Regions from separate parts of the Homo sapiens genome. Here region 2 is linked to region 1. Evidence: promoter capture Hi-C in human tissues and cell types (Jung and others, 2019). All regions are on one chromosome and are shown on one strand. Each heading gives the region's core, a stretch centred on a gene start or on the middle of the fragment in contact. The rest is flanking DNA. Distances are from core to core; before and after follow the strand shown.

The links. Contacts are between HindIII fragments. The study calls those that stand out against the background at their distance.
Region 2: a fragment that was not itself captured here is called in contact with the fragment with the promoter of ATE1 in region 1 in 1 of the 25 tissues and cell types used here (dorsolateral prefrontal cortex).

The regions. Positions count from the first base shown.
Region 1 is chr10:121,926,781-121,931,356 of GRCh38, forward strand. It overlaps ATE1 (arginyltransferase 1), which reads right to left and starts at 1,251. Exons shown (of 12, transcript NM_001001976.3): 1 at 1,064-1,251. The coding sequence starts at 1,169. It also overlaps the pseudogene ATE1OSP. RefSeq lists enhancers at 463-612, 1,151-2,017 and silencers at 923-1,342, 1,533-1,832, 3,654-3,948. The HindIII fragment of the contact is 7,909 bases long and covers 1-4,576 here.
Region 2 is chr10:120,924,549-120,932,261 of GRCh38, forward strand. All of the region lies in intron 2 of LOC105378519 (a long non-coding RNA gene), which reads right to left. Among named protein-coding and RNA genes, the nearest start is that of WDR11, 77 kb to the left of the region's middle. The HindIII fragment of the contact is 4,762 bases long and covers 949-5,710 here.

The sequences.
Region 1 (4,576 bases), core at 1-2,500:
GTAATCATGTCGCATAAGCCATTTGCATCCTGTTGATTTTCTCCGTTTAAGTCCAAACTGGAAGCATTTTTCCATTTAGTCTTCATAATCCTCACTTCTAACGATTGCATAACTGTCTACTCAAAACCGCTGCCCACAAGTAGCACTTAATAAACACTTTTAATGAAGGAGCAAATGCACACACCGTTATCGACCAAATCATTCCCCACTTACACCTTTTTCATGGAAAATGCCTGTGTGTTTTCATGCGAATCTCGTTTTCCACAAAGCTAGACTGTTCTATTAAAATAATAGAGTCTACATTCTATATTGGCAAATGCATGGCAAGAGAGGAAATAAACACGATGTTTTGTTTACCAGCAACAAATCTCCCCCAAAGAAATCTGAATCACGATGGAAAAACAAAACAAACTTGTGGGCTGGCTTTGCTGTCGTCCGGGTGGGTGGAGGAAAGACACGGCATATAAGCAAATGGTAAAAATTTCAAACAGATCAGGACAAACAGAATCCCTCGCCGGTAGCGACCGCGGTCACCAGTTTCTTGTCCTTTTTTTTTTTAACTTTTTTTTTTTTTAACCCAGAGATGCAAAGGGCTCATCCTTCCTGTACATTCGTCCAGGGAAGTCTGATTCATACATGACCGGCACCTGTGTGCACACCCACAGCTCCCTCTGCACCGCGTTTCGCCCTCGCTCCCGGGACGCTCCCACCGCAGCACCCACCGGTCAGCCCCGGCCATTAACTACGGCTCTGGGGCGTTCCCTGGCACTGCGCGCCGTCCTTCACCTCACACAATCTACCCCAGACGGGCGTCCGTCTCCCGACTCTGGGGAGACCACCACGATTTCGAGAGTACGGGCACCGGTTAGGATTTTCCTGCAGAACAGGCACCGCGAAGCTGCCCCGCTAAGCCGGCGCCGCGGCCCTCCCGAGAGTGCCCCCTCCGTCTCGGCCGTGGCACTGGGGCCAGGGGCTCCGGCCCCCTCGCGTCCTCGCTGGGGGACCCTGGGATCCCGAGACCCGGGCGCCCGGCTTCCCACGCCCGCCGGCCCGGCTCGCTCACCATTGGAGCGGCTGCCCGACTCGTTCTTGCAGTAGCCGCAGCGGTAGAAGTCCTCGCTAGGGAAATAGTCCACGACGCTGGGCGAACCCCCCGCCCAGAAAGCCATGGCCTCGGCCCCGCGAACGCTCAGCCGCCCGGCCCCGCGTCGCTAGCGCGGCCGCCGCCGCCACCCCACAATGCAGCGCGCCGCCCGGGAGCCTCCCGAGGCTCGCGCGAAGCCACTCGGGCGCCCGCAGGCCCGGCCGGCCCGGCGCCTCTTGGAGCTGACGCCGCCCGCGCCATCTTGACCGAGGGCAGCTTTCCACTATTTCCGTTCCTTCTCCATAAGGGGCCGCCGTCGTCAGTGAGGGTGAGGCGGAGAGACAGAGCGGGAAGGGAAACAGGATGGGGAGAGTCAAGAGGGGAAGGGAAGCGGGAGTCGGGGTGCGAGCCTGCCCTTTCCCCCGCCGAGGGCCTGTGCGGGGCGCGGCGGCCGCGCCAACTCCGGCGTCGGGAACACTCACCGCAGGACGCTTTGCCCTCCTTGGAATCGCAGTAGCCGCAGTGGTAGCCGGCCCTGAGGCCCTTGTATTCCACCACCGACGCCATGGCCGCCGCGAGGGTCCGCTCGGGCCGACCACGCCTCTTGGCGCCCGGGGCCGACCTCGGCGAAGCGCTGGGGCCCGCGGCGGGAGGGGTGGAGAGCGAAGCCTGGCGCGGGGACCCGTGGGCGGGGATGGTGGTCGTGTCCCCAAGCCCTGCGTTTGGGCCGGTGCTTCCCACAGCTGTGCGTTATCAGCCCCATTTCACAGGTAAGGAAACTGAGGACCGGAGGTTGTGATTATCCCAAAGTCATTCCCGGCGGGTCTCGGATTGAAAGTCAGGCCGCCCCTGGCCACCGTGTAAGTGACTTGCTGGAGCTGCTTCCAGACCAGCTGGCACGCACTCCAGTGCCCTGAATACAAGAACACAAGCAGGTATTCCGTGAATGGCGAGGGTTCGCAAATTAAAGAACTCTTAACGGCTTTTAAAGGAAACAACTGTCAGCTAGAGACAGTTGCTGTCTTGTACCACTATAAGTCCGGTGCCTCATACGATTTTTAATGAGATGCTGGAAATACAGGGTTTGTTTGTTTTTTTTAACTCTACAGTCCAAACAAAACAGTTTTACAGGCTGAATCCAGCCCATGGGCCTCCATTTTGCAACCACTATTTTAAGGAAGATTTAAGGAATAAGAGTCTAGGGCAAAATATAAAATTGAGGCTCATGCCTGTAATCCCAGCACTTTGGGAGGCCGAGGCGGGCGTATCATGAGGTCAGGAGATTGAGACCATCCTGGCTAACACGTGAAACCCCGTCTCTACTAAAAATACAAAAAATCAGCCTGGCGTGGTGGTGGGCGCCTGTAGTCCCAGCTAGTCGGGAGGCTGAGGCAGGAGAATGGTGTGAACCCGGGAGGCGGAGCTTGCAGTGAGCCGAGATCACGCCGCTGCACTCCAGCCTGTGTGACAGAGCAAGACTCCATCTCAAAAAAATTTTTTAAAAAATGAGTTCCAGGGGCGGGCGCGGTGGCTCACGCCTGTAATCCCAGCACTTTGGGAGGCCGAGGCGGGTGGATCACGAGGTCAGGAGATAAGAGACCATCCTGGCTAACATGGTGAAACCCCTTCTCTACTAAAAAATACAAAAAATTAGCGGGACGTGGTGGCACGCGCCTGTAGTCCCAGCTACTCGGGAGGCTGAGGCAGGAGAATGGCGTGAACCCGGGAGGCAGAGCTTGCAGTGAGCAGAGATCGCGTCACTGCACTCCAGCCTGGGCGAAAGAGCGAGACTCCATCTCAAAAAAAAAAAAAAAGAGTTCCAACAAGGTAATATGCCTTATCTTTCCCTCTGCGTGCACAGATAATTTAAGCCTGTCTGTCCTCATAGTTTTCCCAGTCAACAATAAAGCTGATGATACAATATTGTTTTAAGTGTGTTTAAAAAAGTGAAATGAAACTCAGAGAAATAGAAATAAATTTTTGAGGTGAGTTTTGACATTCTTGACCCCAAGGGCCTGTGTTAGATATGTACCTAGCTGAAGGAGGTTTCTTGGTGGCCTGGTGACTTGTTGAAGGGGGCCAGCCCCTCCACACCTGTGGGTGTTTCTCGTCAGGTGGGACGAGAGACTGAGAAAAAAAGTAAGACACAGAGACAAAGTGTAGAGAACAGTGGGCCCAGAGGACCAGGGCTCAGCATACGGAGGACCCGCGCCAGCACTGGTCTCTGAGTTCCCTCAGTATTTATTGATCACTATCTCTACCATCTCGGTGAGGGGGATGTGGCAGGACTATAGAGTAATGGTGGGGAGAGGGTCAGCAGGAAAACGTGAGCAAAGATCTCTGTGTCATAAGTTTAAGGAAAGGTGCTATGCCTCAATGTGCACGTAGGCCAGATTTATGTCTGGCTTTACACAAACATTTTAGTGCAGTAAAGAGCAATATTGCCGCCAGCATGTCTCACCTCCAGCCATAAGGCGGTTTTCTCCTATCTCAGTAAATAGAACGTATGATCGAGTTTTACACTGAGACATTCCATTCCCAAGGAAAAGCAGGAGAGAGATGCCTTCCTCTTACCTCAACTGCAAAGAGGCCTTCCTCTTTCACTAATCCTCCTCAGCACAGACCCTTTATGGGCTGGGGGACGGTCAGGTCTTTCCCTTCCCACGAGGCCATATCTCAGGCTATCACATGGGGAGAAACCTTGGACAATACCTGGCTTTCCTGGGCAGAGGTCCCTGTGGCCTTCCACAGTGCATTGTGTCCCTGGATACTCGAGATTAGAGAATATCAATGACTTTTACCAAGCATACTGTCTTCAAACACATTTTTAACAAAGCACATCCTGCACAGCCCTAAATCCATTAAACCTTGAGTCAACACAGCACATGTCTGTGCAGGCACAGGGTTGGGGCTAGGGTTACAGATTAACAGCATCTCAAGGCAGAAGAATTTCTCTTAGTACAGAACAAAATGGAGTTTCTTATGTCTACTTCTTTCTACGAAGACACAGTAACAGTCTGATCTCTCTTTGTTTTCCCCACGCTTGTTAATACTGCCAAGCATCACTTGTGCCTCCCACAATCGGAAGGCACCTAAGGAGTGGCCATGTAATATCCAGCAGCTTCTCAGGCGTTCCTCCAACTTCTTAAACTTGAAAACTGCATGCTATATCTCAGTATTCATGTTCTTAAGTCAAGCTTCATCCATTTTGTTCTTTATGGCAGATTTGACTATTCCCAGTCCTTTCCCAGACCGGCTCTCATTTTGAACAAAAGCAAAGCCCGTGGAATGCATCAGAAAGAGAGCAGAATATGCTCTGGACAGAAGGTGGACCAGGAGGCTTTTTGGTCTTAATATTCCTGTCCCACTTCACTTCTGTCCCTCTAAAGCCTCATCCTTATCCTAAGTCCTACACTAACCTCAGCCAGGGCACTTCAAGACATGCCAGCCTTGAAAAATAATGAGAATGTCCAAAGTCCTAGGCATATGTGG
Region 2 (7,713 bases), core at 2,080-4,579, 1.0 Mb before region 1:
CACCAGTCGGCGCCAAGTCAAAATAGACCACTCGGCTCTACCAATCAGCAAAATGTGGGTGGGGCCAGATAAGAGAATAAAAAGCAGGCTGCCCGAGCCAGCAGTGGCAACCCGCTGGGGTCCCCTTCCACACTGTGGAAGCTTTGTTCTTTTGCTCTTTGCAATAAATCTTGTTACTGCTCACTCTTTGGGTCCACTCTGCTTTTATGAGCTGTAACACACACCGCGAAGGTCTGCAGCTTCACTCCTGAGCCAGGGAGACCACGAACCCACCAGAAGGAAGAAACTCTGAACACATCCAAACATCAGAAGGAACAAACTGCAGACGCGCCAACTTAAGAGCTGTAACACTCACGGCGAGGGTCCGCAGCTTCATTCTTCAAGTCAGTGAGACCAAGAACCCACCAATTCCGGACACATTATTGTTGATAAATCTGAGGTCAAAGGCATCAACAGATGATTGAAAAGTTTAACTCCAAGTGCCGTTTCATTATCAAATATTTTTAAGCAAATCTCCATTTTACTCCAGATACTTCTGAACACGTTCTGCTATGAGATCTTCACTTTATTCCAATCTTTTGCATTCTACCATCATTTTTAAGCCAAAATACTTCAGGCAGGCTAGAAGATGAAAAAATATTTATGTCCCAAATAAGTGGCATGCACTACTGTCGTAGAAGAGAATCCATGGGGTGCAGGGACCCACGTACCTCCCTCTTGGGAAGTGCATCTCAGGTCAGGGACTCCTACAGGGCCCAATGACTGGGGCTTCAAATAATCCCACAGAGCTGAGCCAGGAAGTAGAACAATAATTAGAAGTGAAAAATGGACAAGTCTGCAATATAATCCAATGGAGACAATTCAAGGAGGAAATTGGCAAACCACTATGTTTGCACAGGTACGTTATGGAAGGAAAGGAGGGAATCCTAAGAAACAAGAGATTTCTTAAGGCTGATTTGTGCAGACATGATGCAGATCATTTTCTTAAGAACTATCTGCCCAACAACACAATTCAGTCCTCCAGGTTTTTACTTCCCAGTGTTCTTCAAAAATGTGTATCAATGAGGAATTTATTTGAAGAACAGCTCCTTGTTTGAAGTTGCTGATCTTTGCCTAGAATAGGCCAAGGAAAATATACCTCATCCCGTTAAGGAGTTAGAAAGCTGTTCCAGCAGATCATATTGTAGCAAACCTGACATAAGTTCATTTAAATGCTAAGGATCTGATCTGAGCTTGTGTTTCTGGAATTGCCAATGCACATTTCAGAGGGCCTCAGTAACTGTCAGCCAAGCCTTGGTTTTGCTTTTTGCCTTTGGCAAACCCACTCAAGAATGGTTCTAAACACAAGGACCAGAGATGTGGAACAGGGTGAAAGCAGCGGCGCTGGGAACACCTGCTTCCCGGCAATCTGGCTGCCTGGCCTTGGACAAGTTATCACCTGAGCCTCACTTGTAAAATGGTGATAATAGGGTCTCCCGATAATAGGGTCTCCCTCCAGGGGTGGCTGAGAGTCAGAGAAGGGAGCTGCGAGGGCTTCTCAAGATCAAGGATCTGTCAGCTTAGCTGCTCCTGGGAAGGAGGCTGAGACTCACATTGTCAGCTTTCACTCACTAAAGAGAGTCTTGCTTGAGGGGCTTGGACAAACAGGAGCTGGGATTAGAGTGGGTGGGACTGGGAAGGAGAGAGAGAAAAAAGGAAAGAAGCAAAGATTGACTCTCCAAATCTCTAAAATCACCCACCCTACAAGTGCAGAAAGCTTGTTCTGAGCAGAAAGGACTTGATCCGGAGCCAGGTAGATCACCTTCTCTCCTGGAGGCAGCTCTGGAAAAAGGCTCTTAGGCTTCTGGCAGTTCCTCCCCTGAGAATCTCACCCTCTGCAGGTCTCCTCCTGCCTGGGAAACAAAGTCTCTCCAGTCCTTTTGCTGCCTTATGCCCCTGATCCCTGCACCCCCGGACCGGACCCCCAGCCCCATCCCATCCATGGGAACCACCAAGCTCCAAGTACTTATTGAGCCACCACCTTCTTCCAGGGACTCACCACCCCTGTCGGGGGATGCAGGGTTGCAGTGGAGAGCAGCCAGCTGGGGTCATTGGGAATACCAGAGTTGGGGCTTGGATGGAAACTGAGTGGGGAGGGCAGCAGTTCTGGGGAGGTGGGAGGAGATGTAGGTAAGTGAAGGGGGCCAGGGAGCAGCCCTGCAGGTAGGGGGCCGGCCAGAGGCTGGCAGCAGGAGAGGAGACCCCTGCAGGCAGTATGGACAGTGGGGCAGAAGTGAGCAGGCGGGAGGGCACATGCCACTTGAGGGCCCGGTGTGAGCTCAGCGAGGGGATCCAGCCAGGGTCCCTCCTGCAGAGGAACCAGCCTCAGTGTGGTCCGAAGAGCCCCAGGAGCTCAAGAAGGTGGCAAAGCCATGGCAGGCAGAGGGAAACTCAGGGAGGGGAAAGAAAAGATCGGAACTGAGGGGAGTCCTGCAGCAGCTACAGCAGGGAAGTGGTTCTGCAGCACCGTTTCCAGATTGCAGGGCTCGTTTAGAACCGTCTCAGCCTGCTGGGGTGGGAGACTGGAGAGGAGCTGCCCACAGCCTCCAGGGTGTTGTCAGAGCTTGGTGCTTGCCCTGCTCTGTCGGCAATCAGCACGGTTGCTGTGATGACACTGAGCTGCCTTGGAAGGAGATGCACAGGTAATGGGGACCTTTCTCAGGAATGCCATAAACTGTGACATAGGCCTCTCCTCGGGACTTTACAAAGCCTTAGTGAAATTCTGAAATCCACCAAATGCTTAATGTGATTCGGTTTGGGGGAAAAGCCAGAGAGGGGAACTGAATGTTGAATCAAGATTGAAACAGCCTCAGCCCACATGATGATGTGAGCAGCCACACATTTAGGTCCCCAAAAGGGTCACTGATAGGGTCACACTGGTCTGGCCCAGGAAGGGTCTGTCTGCATCTGTGCTGAGAGCTGGGGCCTCTGGAGGGCTCAGCGGAACCAGGTGAGACCAGCCAGCACCAGCCTGAGTCCTCAGCCCCCGGGCACCAGAGGCCTTCCCACCTGACTCTGCCATGACAAGTGCCCTGACTGTCTGCGGTGTTCTAGAAAGGTGACCAACAGGTGTAGGCTAATTACATTTCAAAAAAGTTTTTTTTTTTCCCGGCACATATAACAGGACTAGTCCTCTCCCCTCTTCTCATCAGATTCCATTTCCTTTAGCAAACGCACACGGTGTTCGATTTAAGTGCAATTCTCAGAAAACTTAATAACTGCAGTGTTTAATTAGTCTGACAACATTTATTGAAGCGATGAATACAGAAAAAAGTACTTTCAAGGAAGAAAAATGATGTGTCATTGTTTTGTGTTTTCTTTTCTCAAATCTGTAGGCAGGTATGAAACCGAGCAGCAATCTCTGTCTTGAAAAGCTGGTATTTCTGTTTCTAGAACGTATGTGTGTTTGGGGTGGGGTATAGAATAGAGGGATGAACTGAGTCCTTCACCCACTACCTGGTCTGCTCACTCTGCCCACGCGTGTCCCCTCGGCAGCCCTGTGAGTGCCTGAGCTGTGGCTCCCCAGGCAGTGAAGAGCTAGGCCCTGGAGCCAGACCCCCAGAGGTGATTCCCAGCTCTGCCATTGCCATGCCTCAGTTTCCCCATCTGCAAAATTGGCTTAATGACAGTGCTTCCCTCTTGCAGTCATAAAGCTCTTAGAATACAGCTTGGCAGAAAAATGTTGCCTGTCACTATTTGTGCTGTAAAAGCCCTACCTCTTGGCCGAATGGAGCTCAGTAAACCAATGGGAGAAACAGGTCCCTTCTGAGATCTCCCTAGATCCCTATTCAGCCCCTGGTAGGCTCACAATAAGGGCTCAGTGTTTGTGGGAGTGAGTATCTGTGCAGAAGGAAGATCAGAATCCAGAGGTGACAGTTTAAGGTTAACATATTATTTTCCCAGCATTTCAAAAGAAAATGCCGTGAAACACTAGTCCCACAAGATATTCCTGAGAAAAAACAAATGGGATAGGAACCAAATGAGCTGGGAAAACAGGGCATTCAATGTCTCCCCTCAGAGATTCCCAGTGCACGCTTGCACTTCAAAGGCTCTGAGAAGTCCTACCATAAAGACACCTGCTTAAATGTGTTTCAGCCAATACTAGCTAAACTCATTTGCTGAGGAATTTCCTTCTCCCCTCTTTGCTTTCCCTCCCTCCCTTCCCTTCTCCCTCCCTCTCTCCCTCCCTTCCGTTCATGCTGTGAATGCCCCATGGAATCCATGCTGGATTAGGAGTGGGCACAGTTGCTCGAGAAGCACAGGAACTTGCTGGGTGTGCTACAGAAAGCCTTTGTTTTCTCTCTTTTTTTTTTTTTTTTTTTTTTTTTTTTTTTTTTTTTTTGAGACGGAGTCTCACTCTGTCACCCAGGCTGGAGTGCAGTGGCGCGATCTCCGCTCACTGCAAGCTCCGCCTCCTGGGTTCACTCCATTCTCCTGCCTCAGCCTCCCGAGTAGTTGGGACTACAGGTGCCCGCCACCACACCCAGCTAATTTTTTGTATTTTTAGTAGAGACGGGTTTTCATCGTGTTAACCAGGATGGTCTCGATCTCCTGACTTCGTCATCCGCCCACCTCGGCCTCCCAAAGTGCTGGGATTACAGTCGTGAGCCACCGCACCCGGCCTAGAAAGCCTTTCTAAGCAGGCAACAGAGCAACGATGCCACTCTCTCAATAGGATTTCTGGAAGGCCCAGCACTGCAGTACCAGGGAGGATCCAGGGGTCTAAGCCTTGTAGGAGGCTAGTACCTCAACCATGGAGACAGATGGTTTCTTTCCAGAGCACAGCCTCAGGGCTCCCTTTCAACTGATCTGACCTTGGCTGACGCTAAAGGATTTAATGTCTTTTCCCAGAGTGAAACTAAATCTTTTCTATATACGAAGCTGAGAGACCATCAGACAATTTTTTTCCAAGCCTAGAAGTTTCATGGGGAAGAAAACAACAAAAACACGTAAGCCAAATCAAACCAAACCAAAACAAAAGCAACCCTGAGAACAGAAACACACTAATGAGATTTCTGAGCCTTTAAAAGCTTCTGAATAATTCGTGCAACCACAACTTTCCTTCTTTTTTGTTTCTTAGGATTCCCAGGGTAAGAGGACTCAGCTTTGCCATGGTCCCTTCCAAGTGGCATCCTGTCTCTGCTTACACACCTCCAATGATGGGCTGCTCACTACCTCCCAGGCTGTCCCTTGTATTACTCTTAACTTCCATCACCAGAATGTGCTTTAGGTAACAGTAAGATGACTCCAGAGATCCCCCACATCAGACTGGTTGTCTAGTGTAGGCATTGAAACTCTGGATTCTGAATTAGGCCTCCTGGATTAGAACCCCAGCTCCACCATTTATGAGCTATGTACAAGTAGGCAACATGCCACATTCCTCTGTGCCTCAGTTTACTCACCTGCAAAATGGGGGATCATACACTGTACTTATCCCATAGGGTTGCTGAGTGATAACACTCATATCAGTGTGTGGCGCATAGTGCTATGCAAGGGTTTGATGCTATTCTTTTCTAAATTGTGATGACTTGGGACATTCAGCAGCGCAGTCTTTTCTAGATTCTCCATCAAGCACATACAGGTCTGCGCACCCAGCCTGGACATCAGCCCTTTGGACTTATACCAGGCAGCCATGTCCCAAAGGCACAGCCATGGCACCAGGAGGAAAAGGCCAGGGAACGACCAGGACACTGGGAGCTACTCTGCCCATCCACTGTGGTAAGTTCTTGTGCTGAAAGCTCAGGTCCTCAATCCAAACTATCCTCCCTTTAGATTATGGCCTCCTGGCCTCATTTTCTGATTCACTGAGGTTCATTCACTGAGACTTTGGACGTGAATGGTTGTGTAGCTCATCACCCTCTTCTCCTTCTGCTGGAACCTATGTGGCTGCCAATAATGAAGGGGTGTCTCTTAACTTCACTCACCATCTGCTTTCAAGCCTTGGGACCTGGTAAAGAAGCAGTGTCCCAGGTGGAACTCCCCAGGACCCTGGGACCAGGAACCTGTTGCCTCTTGCTGGAGATGGCCCTGAGGACATCTGGAGGCACTCCTAGTCCCCAGAGATGCTTCATCCCCCAGTCCACAGACCCAGTTTCCTGGCAGTGCCCTGCCTGTCTCTCTCCTGGGGATGTACACAGGTGCCCCACTGGAAGCAGCTAGAGAGTAGGTGAGGGACAGGGGGATGGAAAGGATATTGGGCCAGGTCAAAATACATCACAGATGGAAAACATCCAAGTGACCCGGATGGGAGAGCACCCATGAGTGGGTGTCCTGCTGGGCATCCCCCTAACCTCAGACTCTCAGGGAGTGAAGCTTCCATTGAGTCACCCTTGCCAAACCATGCGCCATATGATCCTCAGAGCTTCAGGGTAGCCACGATCACCCCACTTCACAGAGGAGTGAACTAGGCTCAGAGAGGTTGAGAAAACCAGGATGACCAACCATTCTGGATTGCCCCAAAAGGAGGAGTTTCCTAGGACACCAGACTTTCAACTAGGACAGTCCTTGGCAAACTGGGACAGTTGGTTGTGCTGCAATTAAGTGACAAATTTGGGATGCAAGTCAAAGCCCTGCCTGACATCCTGGTCTGAGCCACTTCCACTCTAACCAGCTTTCCAGAGGAGGGAGAATTTAGAAGGATCTGATCCCCAGTGATGCTGGAATCACAAGTGCTCTCTTCCTGCAGGAGGGGGAAGCTGAGTTCGGTCAGCAAATGAGACAGGAAGGCCCAGAAACCAGCAGGGGCCAGAATTAAAGGATTGTCTTCTTAGCCATGCTCTGTTGGAAAGAATGCAGTTTTCAAAACATTTTTAAACTTTTTTGCGCCGTGGACTTTGGACATTCCAAGTAAATCTATTTGCAACACTGGACCAAGTTATACCATTTTGGTTTGGGGTGCTTTCCTTTCATACAAAAACTACCAAAGAAAGCCATTGCTGCTTCTTCTGTCCTTATTTTTCTCTTGAACGAATAGCAGATGCTTTAGGGGAAATGAAACTGAACATGTTGGCTGAAAACCAAAACATCAGTCTACAGCATCTGGGCTTTAGAACCAGGATTCTTTTCCTGCTACCTTGGGGGTGGCTCTGTTTTTAATTACAAGGCCAGCAAATGACAGTGCTCGCTCCTGACAATGGCACCAGGGTCATTCTTCATGAGGACAGGGTCACAGTGGCCACTACTCATTCCAACGCTGGTCTCAGAGATTGTCATGCTCAGGGCCACCTTCCACTGTTTGATCTACTCAGGAATCCTGGTGAGATCAGATTCAATAAATAAACTAAATAAACCACCAATGAGGTTTAAATAAAGCTGTAACACTGCTTGCAGGCGGAAGCATTGTGACTGTTAAGATACCATAAACAGTCAGGATGTTGCCTGCACTTGCAGGGGGATGAGAATTTAAGAAAGCTCCAGAGAGGTTGCTCCGTTTCCTTGCATTTGCTTCCTGGCCCACCCCTACTCTCATCTCCTCCTTCCCATTTTCCTTTCCTACCCTGACCAACTTGGATGTTGGCCACTCCTAGTGAGGCTGGCTGAGAGTCTTGCTGGGTGTGAATTAGACCACGTGAAACCACTTGAGGTCATTAGAATGTTAAGTGGAGAAGCAAGTCCCGACTAACACAGAGTGGCCTGACCTCACTGTCCAGCTGCCAGAATGAGGGCAAAGGCTCA